Regions from separate parts of the Homo sapiens genome. Here region 2 is linked to region 1. Evidence: promoter capture Hi-C in human tissues and cell types (Jung and others, 2019). All regions are on one chromosome and are shown on one strand. The core of a region is centred on a gene start or on the middle of the fragment in contact, and the rest is flanking DNA. Distances in the headings are between cores, read along the strand shown.

What was found. Contacts are between HindIII fragments. The study calls those that stand out against the background at their distance.
Region 2: a fragment that was not itself captured here is called in contact with the fragment with the promoter of EDAR in region 1 in 1 of the 25 tissues and cell types used here (mesenchymal stem cells).

What each region holds. Positions count from the first base shown.
Region 1 is chr2:108,987,607-108,991,135 of GRCh38, reverse strand. EDAR (ectodysplasin A receptor) reads left to right here and starts at 1,916. Exons shown (of 12, transcript NM_022336.4): 1 at 1,916-2,176. It also overlaps a transcript of RANBP2 not described here. RefSeq lists an enhancer at 2,942-3,443. The HindIII fragment of the contact is 2,359 bases long and covers 226-2,584 here.
Region 2 is chr2:108,684,063-108,687,591 of GRCh38, reverse strand. It overlaps LIMS1 (LIM zinc finger domain containing 1), which reads right to left. Exons shown (of 10, transcript NM_001193483.3): 10 at 346-3,529. Among named protein-coding and RNA genes, the nearest start is that of LIMS1-AS1, 7.2 kb to the right of the region's middle. The HindIII fragment of the contact is 4,750 bases long and covers 1-3,529 here.

The DNA of each region.
Region 1 (3,529 bases), core at 667-3,166:
AAACTCCCTTGGCTTCTATTACAGCATCCATATTTTGTGCCATTTTAATTTTTTCTTGTGTCTTTTTTCTCTCTCTTTGGGAAATATCAGTATCATTCCTTTTGGTAAATTTTAAATCACCACTTAATTTCCAATAGAAAAAATGTTTTAGTTACACCTAAAATAATCCCAAACCTCAAACACACTGTGAGCACACCAGAAAGTAAAAATTATATGGAGTAGAACAGATTAGCCCAGAATACCTCCCATTCATTTTCCCAGGTTCCTAATTTAATAATTTCAGTGACTTTAATTTATCACAGACCCTCAGTCTGAACTCGGCATGAGCAGGGTAGACAACCAAACCTGAAAATTCAAGTTAAAATTCTTGTTTGGGAGCTTATATTATCTAGATTAATCATCCACAAGGATCAAGTCAGCTAAGTAACTCTGGTTCAGCTTAATCTCTGTGGAGGCAGAATTAGTCCTTTACAGTCTAGGTCCTTGCCCCAGCCCCATACATTTCTGTCTGCTTTTTTCTTTTCTTTTCTTTTCTGTTTTGAGACAGATTCTCGCTCTGTTGCCCAGGCTGGAGTGCAGTGGCACAATCTCGGCTCACTGCAACTTCCATCTCCTGGGTTCGAACAATTCTCCTGCTTTAGCCTCCACACATGCCACCACCGGCTAATTTTTGTATATTTTTTTTTTTTTTTTTTTTTGAGACGGAGTCTCGCTCTGTCACCCAGGCCGGACTGCGGACTGCAGTGGCGCAATCTCGGCTCACTGCAAGCTCCGCTTCCCGGGTTCACGCCATTCTCCTGCCTCAGCCTCCCGAGTAGCTGGGACTACAGGCGCCCGCCACCACGCCCGGCTAATTTTTTGTATTTTTAGTAGAGACGGGGTTTCACCTTGTTAGCCAGGATGGTCTCGATCTCCTGACCTCATGATCCACCCGCCTCGGCCTCCCAAAGTGCTGGGATTACAGGCGTGAGCCACCGCGCCCGGCCTAATTTTTGTATTTTTAGTAGGGACGGAGTTTCACCATGTTGGCCAGGCTGATCCCAAACTCCTGACCTCAAGTGATCTGCCCGCCTCAGCCTCCAAAGTGCTGGGGTTACAGGTGTGAGCCACGGAGCCCAGACTGTTTCTTTCTTAAGCTCTTACTTTCTCATGTGTGAGTTACCTTGTAGGTTTCCAAGGCAGAGGGGACAAGATGGAAAAGGAGAACACAGAAATCTAGCCTGGAGGAGCTGCTCTGTTCCTGTATTTATCTGTGTAGGTGTGAATGAGGGAGAAAATGACAAGAGAATGACATTATTTTAAGGCTGTTTTCCCCCCCCCAATCATTTACTTTTTGAGAAATAATTGCCCAATACTGAAAGGTATGTCCTTTCAAAATGTTGATGTTTCAAATGGCTTCCTAATTACCTAGTTATACGGGGGGTGTGTATGGTTATCTGAAGTTACATGGGTATACACTGGTGGTGTGAGGTGTCCAGAGAGAGGAAAGGAAGAGCAGTCCTGGTGGCTCAAACCCTGAGGGATGTGCGGGGGATGGGTGAGAATGTGAACAGACATGTTGGAAGCTGAATCCGTGCAGTGGCACCCATGCCTGTAGCCATCTCAGTGGGGGGTCCTTCTACGAACAAGCTTTGATTAATGATATTTTAATGCTAGTTTAGCTTTTTAGCACTCCCACGCCTAAAGGCTCTGATAGAAGCAAGGCCCCCACCCCTGCAAAAAAAAAAATCCATGATTTTTACGCATTCCAACAGATCTCTTAAGGGGCAGACGGCCGGAGAGCCAGGTGTGCCAGGGACCTATGGCAGCAGGGCTGAACGTGCCCGCTCCAGCCTCTCCAGTGCTGGGAGAGACCTCTAGATGGTGCAGGTGAGTTTGCAATGAGGGAAAGCCCCTCGGCAAGGACTGAGTTTCCAAACTTGCAGACAGGGCAGGGAGCGGTCAAGGAAGAGTTCCCGGGAAGCCCTTTAAACGGAAAGGAAGCGGGGCTAGTGTCAGAGAGGTGTGCCAGGTCCCAGGCAGCCCTGCTGGCCCCTAAGGACATAGAGTACCTGCTTCTGAGAGGGCTGCCACGGTGGCCACCTGTGAAGCCTGTCACCCAGAACTGGATGGTACCTGACTTTCTTCATAGACCCATCTTCTGCTGGGACTGAAGCTGACCTCCAACAGAAGCCAGGTAAGCCCTGGTCCTTTCCTCTGGTTTTCTAAACTCTTCAGCTGTGGCCGAGACGGAGGTGTCATGGGCTGGGAGAGAGGCTGGGTGCATTTTTGAAATGCATGTCATTTTTGGGTTGCGTTTGAACAAGCTTTACCGATTGCAGTATGTCTGCGCTACCAGTTCTAAGACCTGAGATTGTTCCTTTGTTTTAGAAAAACATCAGAAACCCTGTTTTGCTGTTGGTTGCACATTTGGTTAGGGAGACAAATTCTGTGTGTGCTTCACAGGCTTTAAGATTTGGGCTACTGAAGCAACGGGTTCCTCCAGGGAGCGTGAAAAGTATGTTTCTCAGGTTTGCCCCTGTGCCCGGCTCACTGGGGAAGGCAGGCGCGGCAGGGACTCTAGCTGGGCTCTGTACCTGCCTCCAACTCTGCGTACCCGCTGTGACCTAAGAGACCTTCCAAGTGGGGTTTCCAGTCGTGTCTGAGACCCCCCATATCCTGGCCTCTGTGTTGGTGGCGGGGGAGCGGGGAGAGGGAGAGAAGGAGGGGAGTGGGTACCTATTTGTGATGATTGAGGTTTTCATTTCCAGCCAAGAGGTTCCTCTCAACACTCTGACAGACCGTGGGGTGGGTTGGGCTCCTAGACAGGAGTCGGCTCTGATTCAGTCGGCTCTGATTCCCAGCCTCCTGCAGCAGCCAAGCTTTGAGATGTCAGCTCAGGGAGAAGCGGGTGGCTGGGCAGGGAGGTCAGCAGGCGAGGTTCCCACTGGGTTTCCCTGCCCATGTTGTGCTGGGTCAGCAACAAGAGGGACAGTTAAAATCAACAAGCAGGGCAGATGCCGGTCAGTGGGCAATCCCACACAGCCAGGGGTACACGCATGTGAGGAGACGTACGGAGAGACAGGAGCACCACCGTCCTCTTCCCCAGTCCCCAGGCCACTGCTCTGTGGCTCTCAAGTGGCATTTTTGAGACACTTTCTAAGCAAGAGTGAAAGTGTAACAAAGAAGTGAAGAGCCATAATAGACTGAAGGAAAAAAGGGATCCAGGCATCTAAAATAGAGAATGTTTCTTGCCTGGCTTAATACTCTGAGATTTGTAAGTCATAGCCACTTAAAACCTTTAAAGATACATTTTGACAGAGGCCACCAAAAAGAGAGTGACTCTGGTCAAGGCTTGGAAATAAGCGTTCGTTCCGATGACAGTCCACGTGTACCCTTCACGGCTGGGAAAGTTTGGCGATCCTGGTGGCGATTGGCCGGGGGTCTCCACTGTACCCCTCCCCATCCCTAAGTGGGCCAGGCTGTGCTGTGGGAGGATTAATTTGTGACAGCACAGTTGGAGGATAATCTTGGAAGGACCAGTCTTTGG
Region 2 (3,529 bases), core at 311-2,810, 300 kb after region 1:
ATTTTTAATAGAGATGAGGTTTCACTGTGTTGGCCAGGCTGGTCTCAAACTCCTGACCTCAAGTGATCCACTGGCCTCGGCCTCCCAAAGTGCTGGGATTACAGGTGTGAGCCACTGTGCCTGGACTGTATCTCCTTCTTAATAATAATAATAATTAAAAAACCCAGCATTTACATTGAGTAGAGGGAAGACTACACCATTGTTCTAGATGGTTCAAAATTTGGCTTATCTATAGTAACCAGGTCATTTTATTCATTTACTTGTTTCTATTATATATTCATGAATACTTCAATTTTCATATGTATTTCACATATATACCATTCAAAATAAACAATATACAACAGGTTATTGTTAACAATTATAAACATTTATTAAGCACCAAGAATATACTGTGGTGGTTGCTATATGAAAACATAATTACCAATATAGTATCCCTGCCATTGAGCTTACAATCTAAAACGAAATACAAGGCTATGAGCCTATCTAAAAACTTCCTTAACTTAGAAATGGCTACTTTGGCAAATGAGTGAGGCAAAATGACCTATTATTCAGGTGCAGTGCTAATAAGGCTTTGAATATCATCCAAAGAATGTTTTACTTGTACCCATTGTTCCTGATTATGTTACACTTGCTAAGAAAAACAGTACTTAGAATTTTGGCATGAACAATGAATTATTTCAAATTGTCTTGTAGGACTTTAAACAAAGAGATGCTTACTGGCCTAAGTTTTCCAGCAGCCAGGGAAAGCCCTATTAAAAATATTATGAACTAGACCAAGTTTCTCTTTTAATCCACTTACACTTTTTTTTTTTTTTTGAGACGGAGTCTTGCTCTGTCGCCCAGGCTGGAGTGCAGTGGTGCAATCTCGGCTCACTGCAAGCTCCGCCTCCTGGGTTCAAGCCATTCTCCTACCTCAGCCTCCCGAGTAGCTGGGACTACAAGCGCCCGCCACCACGCCTGGCTAATGTTTTTTTTTGTATTTTTAGTAGAGACGGGGTTTCACCTTGTTAGCCAGGATAGTCTGGATCTCCTGACCTCGTGATCCGCCCCCCTCGGCCTCCCAAAGTGCTGGGATTACAGGCATGAGCCACCACGCCCGGCCCACTTACACTTTTTAAACTTCTTCCTCTTCTCCTATACCTAAGGGCTCCAATGATACTACTTATCAGGGAAGAAAGTACTGTATCTAGATAAACTACCCTTAAGTATTACAGGCTTAGCAAGTTGAATTTCTAGAAAATACTCATTCATAATTTATTTATTTATTTTTTTTGAGACAGAGTCTTGCTCTGTTGCCCAGGCTGGAGTGCAGTGGCGTGATCTTGGCTCACTGCAAGCTCTGCCTCCCGGGTTCCCACCATTCTCCTGCCTCAGCCTCCCGAGTAGCTGGGACTGCAGGTGCCCGCCACCACGCCCGGCTAATTTTTTTGTAGTAGAGATGGGGTTTCAGTGGTAGCCAGGATGGTCTTGATCTCCTGACCTCGTGATCCACCTGCCTCGACCTCCCAAAGTGCTGGGATTACAGGTGTGAGGCACCGTGCCTGTCCACTAATTCATATTTTAAAAGAGGACTGAGCAAAGACAGCAATGGAACCTCTGGCTGCAGGAGATGCCTGGGTATGCCTGATATGTAAACAAACACAAGCAGTCGAGTTCAGGCCATGCATCTTCAAAGTGACGAAGAATATATGTAAATGCTTGTTTTTCTCCTCCATATTTCTCGTGTAGAGGTATATGAGAATTTAGCATCAAGACGCTATACTGCAAACCCTGTTCTGTGTTGCCTATATTCATAGCATAATATTTAATAAATACTCCCAAGGTTGTCATTGCTGGTCACATATTAGCTGACAAAGGCACACTGAAGGGACTTTGATTCTTACTGTAAAATGCAAAGATTGTTTTAAACTACTCAACATATACAATCTTAAACTATGTGATGATTATTCTCGATCATTTATGATAATTTCAATTCTAAAAGATTACTAAAAAAAATTGGTTGTAGGGTATCTGAAAACAAAAATAGAATGTACTCCATAAAGTACATGCACAGAATTTTTAAAAATGCAGGCATACAAATATTTAATGGCAGAGTGGTAATAACCTGAGACTTTTTAAAAATGGCAAAACAATATTTCAGCAATTTTTGGAAAAAAAACCCAAATATTTTCCCTAAGAAGTCTCTCTTGGCAACTTTCTTTTTAAGCAACAAAGCAGCAGCAACATTTTTAAATGTTCATAAAGCTCGCTTTCCATTAACAAGTTTATTAAGGAAGAGTGGTCCTGAAACTTCAGGATAAAACTTTTGATAAAAATAGAATCACTAATTTTGACCTAAAACAGACACTAAAACACCCCTCCTTCCAATTTAAGAGTGTCATTTATACCTCCTACTTACAGTAAATAAATCAAATTAATTATAAGATTTCAAATGGAAAATCTGAAACACATATCAACATCATTTTCTTCTAATAAGATAACAGAAATTAACTTCAATGGATTTCCCCAAAAAGAGAATAGTTTCTAAAAACTTAATTACAGCTGTGGTAAATGAATCTGGGTTTACCAATCTCAGATCTCAATGCACTTAGTTTTAGTTGGTATTCTGTGAGATGGCTAGAATTCCTGATTTAAGTATGTAGTATGTATGTTTTTAAGGCAAGGCAAGTTTGAGTATGTATAAAGCATAGATATTAGCATGGTTATAAAGGCAATATGACCGACATACACATTCAGTTTTCTGAAGCAATATATTCCAAGCTACATACAATTTAATTTCATGTCCTATTCTAAGACTACATGCTTAACATTAAGCTTAGAAACATAATTGCTGTAATACATTAAAAATACTTCATTTTCCAATATTGTAAAGTATATTTCCAAATACCTGGTATAAATTTTTTTTTGCACAAAAATTTAAAGGACATCCTACAGCTAGCTATTACTACTGCGTTAAGTAATCATTTGAAGGAAGAATTCACAAGGAGAGCAGGTTATAAAACTAAGCATAATAATTATTGCATTTAACTAAAAAAAATCAAGTAGTTCTGAATTACACTTGTTTTTTGTCTTAGTAATGTGCATATTCACTTTCTAGCTACTAGTTTGATAAATATACTAAGATTGTATAAGATTTGTTTTTCTTGTTTTTGTTTTTCTTGGGTGGTTATTTTTCTTTTCTGTGTCCTTCCCCAACAGCAGTTGGAATTTTCTTTTGAACACAAAGTAAATTAATGTTTATACTGTTTTTTCACCTGAGTCATGTAAAAGGTGACTCCTTTCATTTTAAAAAGTTATATTTAATTTTTGGGGGCCTTAATTAAAATTTAACATTTAACCATGTGTTTTTTTTTTGTAAACAGTCTACATGTCAACAAATGGATAAGGGTTAACAAAGGCAAATACTGACTTCATTTGTGTTTTAAACACGATTATATGAATTTTTCTTTTTTAATTAAAAAAATGACATAAAACCATTCATATAGGTCCTCTTCTCTCAACTGCTTTGAGATATAGCTTTAAATATGGG